Linked DNA regions of Homo sapiens: region 1 is linked to region 2. The links are contacts of gene promoters, found by promoter capture Hi-C in blood cells and fetal thymus (Javierre and others, 2016). All regions are on one chromosome and are shown on one strand. The core of a region is centred on a gene start or on the middle of the fragment in contact, and the rest is flanking DNA. Distances in the headings are between cores, read along the strand shown.

Evidence for each region. The method cuts DNA at HindIII sites, captures the fragments that hold promoters and counts their contacts. A CHiCAGO score of 5 or more calls a contact.
Region 1: a contact is called between the fragment with the promoter of CCDC110 here and the fragment with the promoter of CDKN2AIP in region 2, in 7 of 17 cell types (total B cells, non-activated CD4 T cells, activated CD4 T cells and 4 more). The highest score is 8.8, in total B cells.

The regions. Positions count from the first base shown.
Region 1 is chr4:185,470,331-185,476,454 of GRCh38, forward strand. It overlaps CCDC110 (coiled-coil domain containing 110), which reads right to left and starts at 1,403. Exons shown (of 7, transcript NM_152775.4): 1 at 1,344-1,403; 2 at 615-719. The coding sequence starts at 1,353. LOC105377590 (a long non-coding RNA gene) reads left to right here and starts at 1,101. Exons shown (of 2, transcript NR_133944.1): 1 at 1,101-1,430; 2 at 1,785-1,933. RefSeq lists a silencer at 988-1,617. The HindIII fragment of the contact is 5,122 bases long and covers 1-4,905 here.
Region 2 is chr4:183,440,720-183,446,767 of GRCh38, forward strand. It overlaps CDKN2AIP (CDKN2A interacting protein), which reads left to right and starts at 3,917. Exons shown (of 3, transcript NM_017632.4): 1 at 3,917-4,350; 2 at 4,816-4,946; 3 at 5,369-6,048. The coding sequence starts at 4,079. RefSeq lists a silencer at 3,392-3,941 and an enhancer at 4,222-4,371. The HindIII fragment of the contact is 3,011 bases long and covers 2,641-5,651 here.

The DNA of each region.
Region 1 (6,124 bases), core at 153-2,652, 2.0 Mb after region 2:
TCCTGCTGTATACTTTAAATCATCTCTCGATTACTTGTAATACCTTATACAATGTAAATGCTATGTAAATGGCTGTTATACTGTTCAAAATTTGCATTTAAAAATTGTGGTACTGTTATTTTTAAAAATTTTCCCCCCTGAATATTTTCCATCTGTGGTTGGTTGAATCCAAGGATGCGGAACTCCCAGATACCGAGGGCTGACTGCATATCGTTTTAGTGTGTGTCCAAAAAACTCAACAATTCTTACTTAGCATTCAGAGAAGCAACGGAGCGTAGCGTGGTGGTGAAGACAGGCAGTCCGGAGCCGCCCTGCTGAATGCCCGCTCCATTCCTCGCTGCCTGTGTGACCTTAGGGAGTTAACCTCTCTGTGCCCGTTTCCTTATCTGCAAAATGGGGATCGTGGTAGCACCCACCTCGTAAAAGTGTTGTGAGAATTAAACAGTTGATCCATTACGTGCTTAGAACAGCACTGGCACAAAGCGCGAGTGCCGTGGTGGCTGCTGTCCGTGTCATCACGGCCGTGGGAAGCACGCCAGGTGAGCAGGTGGCACAGGCCAGATGCTGCCGCCTGTGTATAGTTAAAGGAGCCTTTTACGGTCTGGCGATTTTACCTGTGTCACTGCAGCCACTTTCCTTCACCCCCTCCGAAGAATTTAGGATCTTGGACGCTGAAAGGAGAACGGAGTCAACTTCATCCTCTTCCCGGTGCTGCTTTTCTGTAACAGAACCGTCCGGGGCTGTTCTGTCGCGGGTCGTGGCGTGGCGGGGCTGAAGGTGGGGGCGGGGCAGAGGGATGGGGCGGGGCAGGGCTAACGGCTGGGGCGGGGCGGAGGGAATTAGGAGGGGGCGGGGCTGAAGGCTGGGGCGGGGGGGCGGGGAGGGCGGGGAGGGCGGGGCGGAGGGAATTAGGAGGGGGCGGGTTTGAAGGCTGGGGCGGGGCGCAGGGATGGGATGGGGCGGAGAGACTGGGCGGGACCTGTGGGGGCAGAGGAATGGGGCGGGGTCAAGGCTGAAGGCTGGGGCGGGGCGGAGGGATGGGGCGGAGGGACGGCATCAGGCCGGGCCTGGGGCGGGGCGCGGCGCTTTCCGCAAGCGGCCACCCGAGGGCGCGCTGGGCGGGCGGCGGCGGCAGACCACGTAGCCAGCCTGTAAGCCACAGCGGACGCAGGGGGCCGCAGCGGGTGCTCAGCCCTAGGGCCGAGCGGGAGATGTGCGGCGAGTGCAGAAGGGCGGACCCGGGATGTCCCGGGTTTTCGAGCGGGGAGCCGCCTGCTGAATGCCCTTCTGCTGCCCTCCGTTCCCGCGGCTCCCCTAGGAGCCCCGCCCCGTCCAACTCTTACCCGGGCTCATCGCCGCGGCTCATCTCTCTCGCAACCGCCGCCGCACGCACCCGCTCCGCCGCCCCGCGCAGGGCATCCTGTCGCCAGGTAACCGGGTGGCCGGGGCGCCGGCCCCACCCCCACCCTCGGCGGCGCGCGCTCGGCTGGGGTCCCTGGTGGGGTCCCGGTGGGTCCCTCCTCACTCCGGACGCTTCCCCGAGAGCTTCCCTGGGAACCTGGCCTGGGACAGCCCACCTGGGCGCCTCCCCGCACACGCGCGCGGCTGTCCGGGACGGGCTTGCTCACACTCGGACTCGCTGCGGTACCCGCCGGACCAAAGCGGTGCGGAGAAAGGGACCGCCCGGGGACGGACACACGCCTGAGAGCTTTCCCTTTGCCTTTCCACATCTCCACTTCATCGCTGTTGTTTTTTTTTTTTAATTCTTAGTCCTCTCATTTCAGCGCATCCCTCAGAGGAGTTTCAGCATTTGGGGATTTGAACGGCCCATGACCAATATTGTGAAAGGACTTTTGTTTGCTGCAATGAAAAGAAGACTCCTATTTTTCAATAATGAATTAACCTAAACATGTATTAAAATATGCTCATGAAAGCTGTGGGAAGCGACGGTGGGCTTCCTTTGTCTAAGCATGTTAATTTTTACGCACCTGGTGTATCACGTGCAGGATTGATGTTGCGTTCACGGGAAACCTGACCTCCTTTAACCAAGGACTGGGTGCGTGCCCCCAGCTAATCCTCCTGCCCATCAGAAAATGGTGCTCTTTAAAGTTTTAAACGAGTATATATTATTTATTTTGTAGTAAACCATCACACATAGAAAATTAAAATTCAAAATCACAATCACCAGGATATCATAATTTGCTATATAATAACATATAATATATAATAAGTAATACATGATGGCTTGCTTTCATTGAAATGAAACTTCTTATGATAGTTTCAGTGCTTACTTCCTCTAATTTGTTTCTTATAGAAATGGGCTCTAGTGCACGCGCCTGTAATCTCAGCTACTCAGGAGGCTGAGGCAGGAGAATCGCTTGAACCCAGGAGGCGGAGGTTGCAGTGAGCCGAGATGGCGCCACTGTGCTCCAGCCTGGGCAACAGAGCCAGACTCCGTCTCAAAAAAACAAAAAAAAACAAACAAAAAAAAAAAAAAGAAAAGAAATGGGCTCTAGGTCCGGCATGATGGCTCACACCTGTAATCCCAGCACTTTGGGAGGCCGAGGCGGGTGGATCACCTGAGGTCAGGAGTCCGAGACCAGCCTGACCAACATGGTGAAACCTTGTCTCTACTAAAAATACCAAAATTAGCCAGGTATGGTGGAGTACATTCGTAATCCCAGCTACTCGGGAGGCTGAGGCAGGAGAATCACTTGAACCCAGGAGGCAGAGGCTGCAGTGAGTCGACATAGTGCAACTGCACTCCAGCCTGGGCCACAGAGCGACACTCTGTCTCAAAAAAAAAAAAAAAAAAAAGAAAGAAAGAAAGAAAAAAATGGGCTCTAGAAGATTTGACTTTCTTGTGGCATTGTAGACAATTTTAATAAATTATAATTTTGAGAATTTATGGTCTGCATTGCTGATTGATATTGATGATTCAGGAGATAGAAATTATTTAGGCAGATAGGGCAAAAGAGTCTTCAGCAGAACTTCTAACAAAAAACAGCTCAAGAAATCATTTTTTTTTCTAACAAAGAGCAGCCTGAAAGCCTGCAAACCTTGCAAAGATAGATCAGGAAGCTGGAAGCGTGCACACCAGGGCGCAGGGGGTTGGGGGGCAGCGTGCGGGTGGATGCCAGCAGCTGCGCTGATAGAAAAGGGCTACCTGGGGGCCAGGCATGTCCACCATGGAATCTCCATCTCCCCTTTTTTGTTAGCACGTGTACAGTAAGAAAGAGATGGGCGATATGGAAAAGCTCAGTCAGAGAACCCACCTGCGTAGTAAAAGATTGGGGTGGGGGCTGCCAGAGATTCATGCCCTATGCAGATGGCACACCTGGTCCTAACTGGTTTTTCACGCCCTATGTAGATCAGACTGCCTCCCCATTAGCTCATCTATAAAATTCTATAAAAAATATTTCACAGCGAATTGGCAACCCGGGGACCCCTTTCTGTAGCGGAGAGCTTATTCCCTTTCTTGTCGCCTATTACATTTCGGCTCTTAACCTCACTCTTTGTGTGTCTGCATCCTTGATCTCCCTGTGAGACAGCAAACCTTGGTGTCAGCCCACACAATGAGGCTGCTTCATTGATAAAGTTAATTTTTTTCCTGAGAGCTACACAAGTTTTCAGCAATATGTTTGTGAAATTACTACTGTAAATAAATTGCATTCCTTCAAAGGGTGAATGACAAAAAGCCACTACATTTTAGCAAGTCTGTTTTTATACTACTGAAGTTTCCACAATTAATTACTATATTGTATTTTATGTAATGCTAATTATTAATATCTAATCATTTGATAATTTATGTAATAATGTGTAATAACTCTAATTTGTCTATGTAATATTTGTGGACTATGATGACAAATTAATATCGGTTATTACATAGAAATTACTTGTGGATTTTTGTGGGAGCACTCAGTCATACCATTTAGTGTAGAATATAAAAAGCAGGTGATAGATGCTACAACATCAAACTCAGATTTAGCCAGTGCACTAATCTCAATAGAGAGTTACTTCCATTTTAAGCTACTTCCTAATCCATTCATCAGTCAGAAAAGCAGCTCTTTAGTTAGAAGGACACTTTATTTTAGATGTCCTATAAGGCCTTTTGATTATCACACTCATTTCTCTTTTGTAAAGCACATCACATATATATTCTCAGTTAAAACAAAAATTTTGTCAGAAAATTATTGCAATTAATATGTAAAAAGGCTGTCTTTGGAGCCAACAGTTATAATATTTTAAAAACTGTTTTCAATAATAAAGATGCCTATGATTTGAATATCACCCTCTCAGATGAACCCCCTCGTGAAGGGCCTCACATGAACATTGCGTGCGCCAACCCTGGTATTCGAGGTGGGAGAATCTGGAAGTGGTAATTAGAGCATTGACATGTCTCTAAAAAAATGGGGGTGGGAGGTGGTCACAGCCCTTTAGGGACATTCACTGCAGTGTGAAATGTATGTTGAGGGAGAAATCTTATTTGATCACCCATGGCCACTTAAAACCATTTTCACCTGCGCTTGAAACTACCTGCATTTTGAACTCCGTGGCTGACCGAATGATGGGCCTCTCTGAAAAGGAGTTTCCTTATCTGTACAACTGTGAGCCAGTAGTGAGGATGAGTGAAATCCCAGGTGAAGGGCCTACTCCAGGAGAAAGCAGAGTGGTCACATACGGGGCTGACAGTGAATGGCAGGTCTAGAGCCCCGTCTAGGGTGGGATTCCATAAACACTTTTGAAATTTTTTTTTCCTGTGGTTCTTCTTTGAAAAAACTTGACACTTCAGTGGAAAAAGATTCAATTATTGTAGCTCAAATATTAGAAAAAATGTATATTTTAAAGAGATAGTAGAATGTGTTGTCTAGTTTATATTGTGTGTGAACTTTGATGAACTTGCCAAGCTTCTAAAAATAAAAAAATTGTTTGGGCATCTCAGTGAGTGCGTGTTTAGATGGCCTATAAAATGAAAATTTCTCGGCCGGGCACGGTAGCTCACGCCTGTGATCCCAGCACTTTGGGAGGCTGAGGCAGGTGGATCACCTGAGGTGCGGAGTTTGAGACCAGCCTGTCCAACATGGAGAAACCCCATCTCTACTACAAATACAAAAAATTAGCTGGGCATGCTGGTGGGTGCCTCTAATCCCAGCTACTCACTCGGGAGGCTGAGGCAGGAGAATTGCTTGAATCCGGGAGGTGGAGGTTGCTGTGAGCCAAGATCGTGCCACTGCACTTGAGCCTGGGCGACAGAGCAAAACTCCGTCTCAAAAAAAAAAAAAAAAAAAAAAAAGGCTGGGCGCAGTGGCTCACACCTATAATCCCAGCACTATGGTTTGGGAGGCCGAGGCAGGCGGATCAAGAGGTCAGGAGATCAAGACCATCCTGGCTGGCTAACACGGTGAAACCCCGTCTCTACTAAAAATACAAAAAATGAGCCAGGCGTGGTGGCGGACGCCTGTAGTCCCAGCTACTTGGGCTTGGGAGGCTGAGGCAGGAGAATGGCATGAACCCGGGAGGCAGAGCTTGCAGTGAGCCGAAATCGCGCCACTGCACTCCAGCCTGGGTGACAGAGTGAGACTCCATCTCAAAAAAAAAAAAAAAAAAAGTAAAGTTCTCACTGTGTGTTACTTATTAAATTACTTTTTTTGAGTAATTTAAAAATAATGAAAAGTACAGAGTGATGTAACTAACGCCTAAAAATAATGAAAAGTACAGAGTGATGTAACTAACCCCCTGCTTCAATCTTCCAGAATTAACAATGACATCTGTTGGCATATTTGATTTTTAATTATTATTTTTTTAAAATTACGTAGAGTTGAACTCCCCAGCATTTCATATCCTGCTCCTCCTTCCTCACGTCCTTCCCTCAAGAAACCATTATTATGAATTTAGGGTGCAACCTTCCAGTCCATTCTTATATTTTTATGGTTATTATATATATTTGTGAATAATATATAATAGTTGTTCTTGTCTAAAACATTTTCATAAATAATATAATTTATGTTTTATTCTACAGCTTGCTCTTTTTTCTCAACTTTTTTTTTAGGTCTATCTGTATTTTTAAAAATAGATCTTTAATTCAATTGTAAAAATGGGCTTGATCAATCTTTCTGTTCTTCCA
Region 2 (6,048 bases), core at 2,667-5,166:
TGCGAGCATTCTCTGCACCATCAGATGGCCTCCATGTCAACGTCTCAGCTCCAAACTTACAAACGTCTTCTTTTAAAACAGAGGAAGTGTCTGCCCACCTAAGGTTAATCTCTCCACCTGTGTGTGGATCCCAGCCACACCTATGTCTGCAGAAATTGCTAATTACCCTCTTTTTCTTCAGATCCTCAAACTCTCCTTTTCTGTGAGTTGCCTTCAAGCAGTGGGCAACATGCTCAGGCTACTCCCATCTGAAATTGAAGCCACCTTGACCCCATGACCCTGTCCAGCTTCCTCTATCTTCTCCCCTTTACAGCCAAATATCTCCATTTCCGACTCCTGAACTCACTCTGATATGGAGTCTTCATCACTGCAGTAAAAACGGCTTTTGCCAAGCTCACAGGTGGCTCCAGTCCGTAATCAGACTGTTACTACCTATCTTCATCCTACTTGATTTCTCAAAGCTTCTAACAGAGGGGATCACTCTTAAAACATTCTCTTACTTTTTCAGAACATCCCACCTTATCACTGTAATTTGGCAGATTTGTGTCCTCACACATCATTAGCATAAAATATTTCCCCTCACCATGAAGTATTTCTCACATCAAGTCATAACCTTGGCCATAACTGGAGTATTTGCTCCTCACAAGCCTCTCCACATGCAGACCTTCCTGCCAAAGGCTTTCTTGCTTCCACAGTCACATCCAGGAACAGGGGCAATCCCTTCATGTTGCTCCATGGGAAAGCCATCTGCAGAAAAGCCAGCTTGCCGCTGGAATTTTTATTGGATGTCTTCAGAGAGATATGCTACAGAACCAGTTTCAGTGAATGGGCTTCCACTTACAGCAGAAAATTTAATCCTGTGAACTCAGTCACTTGTTTGAAACTCAATTTGGGATGATAGTGGATCTTTCTCAATTCATTAGAATTCTCTCCCTTTTCTCCTCTGAGTAGATTTCTAGTGAGGGCAGTGGTGGGGTGAGGCTTGGTTATCATCCTAGCATTGTCTTGTGCTTTCTTCCCTGTGGGCTCTGCTGGGAGTATAACTGCTTGATCTACCAGCACAAGCAATGCACACTGATCATTTCAGGAGAGGTTGAGGGTCCTCTCCTATTGATGCGGCCTGACGGGCACTGGTCTGATGACTTGCTGAAAACTAGCTGCATCTCCCTTTGCTGACAAGCTGACCACCCCTAGCCTCATTCACCTTGGACCCTGGTGCTTGGTAGGCACTTCACCATTCAACTCTTTCTTGGGAACCTTTTGGATCTCCTCTAGGCCCTGTGAGATATATGTGCGTAAATGCGTGTGTGTGTGTTATGTATATATACACACACACATATGTATATATATATACACACGTGTGTTAGGAGCAGAGGAGGGAGTTGTATAGTTGGTTATCAAAGCTATAAAAGGCCCTTTCTATGTTCATTTCTAAAGGCCAACGCATACAGGCTCAGGGCACGATTGGGCTGTCTTCTCTCAGAAACTCGGGCAGAGCCAAGTCCTTCTGCTCTTAGACCCAAAATCTACCTAGCAATTTCTAACAGCCAACACTTCCCACCCTGCATCTTATTCCCTACTCCCATAGACTTTCCTAGTTATCACCTAAATTCTCCTCTCACCTTTTCTCTCAGAACGTCTCCCCCAGCTTAGAGAGGAATTTGTCTCTGTAGGTGGGAGGGTCTTTAAAAAAAAATGAGGCCGGGCACAGCGACTCATGCCTATAATCCCAGCACTTTGAGAGGCCGAGGCAGAAGAATTGCTTGATATTAGGAGTTCAAAACCAGCCTGGACAACAGTGAAACCTTGTTTCTACAAAAAAATAAAAAATTAGCCTGTCGTCGTGGTACCCGCCTGCAGTCCCAGCTACTTGTGGTTCATAGTCTTTGAATCTTTATATGCAAAGTCAACTTTTTAAGAATCAAAAAAGAAAAATGCATGTATCTTTTATTCCAAGCACCTGGTTTTTGCACAAGTACTCCATCTTTCAGACTCTATCGCTTTTATTATAATTAAAAAAATTGTTTGAAATTCAGGCTCTACTTGTTCTCCTTTCAAGGCAATGAAGCCCATGAGTGGGAAGAAGACTACAGGGCAACAAGAAAAAAAGTGAGAACATTATTATTATTATTTTTTGAGATGAAGTCTCACTCTGTCACCCAGGCTGGAGTGCAATGGCTTGGTCTCGGCTCACTGCAACCTCTGCCTCCTGAGTTCAAGCGATTCTCCCGCCTCGGCCTACAGAGTAGCTGGGACTACAGGCACGTGCCACCACACTTGGCTAACTTTTGTATTTTTAGTAGAGATGGGGTTTCACTACATTGGCCAGGCTGGTCTCGAACTCCTGACCTCATGATTCGTCCGCCTCGGCCTCCCAAGGTGCTGGGATTACAGGCGTGAGCCACTGCACCTGGCCGTGAGAACATTCTTGATTTAAAATGCACATATATAATCTAGGTATGCGATCATAGCTTCTTTTACTTGCCATGGTCCCCTTGCCAAAGAATTCATGAAAGGAGAAATCGTAATTTCTCCACCTTTTAAATAGCCAGATTTCTGCAATCCGTCCACCCCCTCTAGATTTTCAGCAATTATCTGTGAAAAGGAGGAAAGAACAGCAAACTAGAAGCAAAATCACAAAGCTTCAAAATTTCTTTGTGCCTCCGTTTTTATGTAGTTTCTTTTGGTATGGCAGGAAAATGGGCAATATTGTTTTCATACAATAGCTGTATTTTGTTCCAGCATGCACATAAATTACACAGTTAACCTTATCTGATCTTACCTAAAGTGACCTTTTTTTGCTTGCTTATTCTGATTCATGCATTTTTACATCAAAGTCTACATTTATTGAAAGAAAAATTTCATAATTTATATCATTTAACGTATTTATCTTACAGTGCATGTATACCTGGAATGGGAAACGTAACAATAAGCCAGCCAGCAGTTAGAGTACGTAACTGTGGGAAATGTAAAGTGGAAAAAAATATATAGAAGGAAAAAACAGCTCTAACAGGGAGAGAGGTTTGGGGCCCTATAGATAAATAGGTACATTTCCACTCCACCTCCGGACATCTGCCGGTTGGTGGTAAAGCTGTTGATTTTAGGAAATTCTAGAGACAGAGCGTTGTCGGGGTGTTGTTTTCCTACTGACCAGAACAGGAAGGCAATGCCTGGATTAACTAGAGACCTAATAAACTGCGGGAACAAGCCCTACCGCTGCGGGGCCAGGGCCAGCTTCGAAGGCTGCAAGCCTCACGGCAACACGGAGCCAGGTCCTCGTGTGACCTTACTGTCTACTGCTGCTATGTAAGGGGACTGGCACTCCCGCCCTCCTGAAGGCGCGGAGACCCCGACGGCCTCGGAACGCTTCGCTCGGGCACACTGAAAGCAGCGCGAGACGCAGCTCCCAACACTCTAACATGGAGGCCGGCTTTTGTTTGTTTTGGCCCCGCTCACACACAGGCGTCTCAGGGCGGAGACCACAGGCCCCGCGGCTGCGGGCGGCTCAAGGTCCCCCGGGACGCCCCCCTAGCGGACTTTGGCCGCCGCGCCCGGCTGCCTCCCTTGCCCGGGCCCTGCCCCTCTCGCCTCTGCTCCCGGCGCCGCAGCTGACCCGGCGGGGGAGGAGGACGGCAGGAGCGCGCGGCGTCACAAAGCGAGGACAGAACGCCCGGGGTTCCGCCGAGACTCGGTCGTCCCAGGCCAGCTCGACTTGCAGTCCGCCCTCGTGGGGCGGGAGACGCCCGACGCCCGCCCACCTCACCCCCGGGGTGCCCTCCGTGGCCTCACGGGGACGCAGCGTCGCAGCGGCCCCGGCGCCGCAAAGCGTCTTGGGAGCGCCGGCTCGCGCCGGAAGAACGCGAGGGCGCGCGGCGGCGGCGAGGTTATAAAAGGGAAGAAGCCGGCGGTGGGCGGAAGTGGGCGGTTCGGCGGCTCTGGGCGCTGTTGTTTGGTCTTTAGGCCTGCGGAGGGGCGTTATCTGGAGGGCCGCGGGTGCAGGCCGCAGTGACAGGGCCGCTCGCCCCGCTAGTCCTGCCTGTCTCCCGGTGCAGCTGTGTTCGCGGCCTGCAGGCCCAACATGGCGCAGGAGGTGTCGGAGTACCTGAGCCAGAACCCGCGGGTGGCAGCCTGGGTGGAGGCGCTGCGCTGCGACGGCGAGACTGACAAACACTGGCGCCACCGCCGGGATTTTTTGCTTCGCAACGCCGGGGACCTGGCCCCCGCTGGCGGCGCTGCCTCCGCTAGCACGGATGAAGCTGCCGACGCCGAGAGCGGGACCCGAAACCGGCAGCTGCAGCAGCTCATCTCCTTTTCCATGGCCTGGGCGAACCACGTCTTCCTCGGGTGCCGGTGAGTGAGGCAGCGTCCCTAACCAGCACGCCTCGTTTTGTGTGCCACCTGCAGACCGGGGCCCGGCGCCCTCCGCGGGACCGGCCTCGGCGGGGAGGGGAAGTTGTGAAGCGCGGGAATCCGCCGGCCCGGCTGCCCTCTAAGGGGGAGAAGGGCGTCCCTGCGAGGAGCCGACATGATTCCCGGACGTCTGTGTGCCCGGTGGTGTGGGCGCAGCTGCTGGTAGGGTTGCTTGTGTTAGGGAACAACGCTCTTGGGGACGGGTGCGAGATTTAAGATTAGTGAGGAGGTGCCCTGCCTCCCAGACCCTGGGGCACTTGTTTATGGGGTTCCAGGAAACAGTTCTTGGCGGTTGGTTCACTTTCTTGATTGCAGCCAGGAAATGCAGTCCCTGTGGCCTGTTTTTTGCACAAGTAGGACCTTAGAAAAAACACTTTTTAAAAATGACTTTTCCTTCTTTTTCAGATACCCTCAAAAAGTTATGGATAAAATACTTAGTATGGCTGAAGGCATCAAAGTGACAGATGCTCCAACCTATACAACAAGAGATGAACTGGTTGCCAAGGTGAAGAAAAGAGGGATATCGAGTAGCAATGGTTAGCAGATCATAGATGTGAACATACATAGGAGTTTAGAGCATAAGTTTGATATAATTAGGAATTATTGTTACTAATTTTTTTAACAAGCCAGAATTTTTATGTTATTAATAAGTAATAAAGTTGGAATGTTAAACCTAAAGTATATATCTGTGTCTTTAGGCTTTGAATTTGATAGTTTGCTTTGACTGCTTTAGATTTTGAAGTGTCCACTGTTGTCTGATGCTGTTATTTTTTTAATATTAGACATTCATGATGTTATTCAACACTGTTTTAAGAAATTAATGACTCCACACTTTTTAAAGAAACGATTAGTCTTGAAATGTTTTCACTTTGTGCCTTTATTTTAATGTGTATTTGTCTCATCACCCGTTTTGTACGAGGTATTCTTAGTCACATATCTATGTTTTTCTTCTTTTTAGAAGGGGTAGAAGAGCCATCCAAAAAACGAGTTATAGAAGGAAAAAACAGTTCTGCAGTTGAGCAAGATCACGCAAAAACCTCTGCCAAGACAGAACGTGCATCAGCTCAGCAGGAAAACAGTTCAACGTGTATAGGGTCGGCCATCAAATCAGAGAGTGGGAACTCAGCTCGGAGCTCTGGCATCTCCAGTCAGAATAGCTCTACAAGTGATGGAGATCGATCTGTTTCCAGCCAAAGCAGCAGCAGCGTTTCCTCTCAGGTAACAACGGCAGGATCTGGGAAAGCTTCTGAAGCAGAAGCTCCAGATAAACACGGTTCTGCATCATTTGTTTCCTTGCTGAAATCCAGTGTGAATAGTCACATGACCCAATCCACTGATTCTAGACAACAAAGTGGATCACCTAAAAAGAGTGCTTTGGAAGGCTCTTCAGCCTCAGCTTCTCAAAGCAGCTCAGAGATCGAGGTGCCCTTGTTGGGCTCCTCAGGAAGCTCAGAGGTAGAATTGCCACTATTGTCTTCCAAACCTAGTTCAGAGACAGCTTCAAGTGGGTTAACTTCCAAAACTAGTTCAGAGGCAAGTGTTTCATCATCAGTTGCTAAAAACAGTTCCTCATCAGGCACATCCTTACTGACTCCCAAGAGCAGCTCTTCAACAAATACATCGCTGCTAACTTCCAAG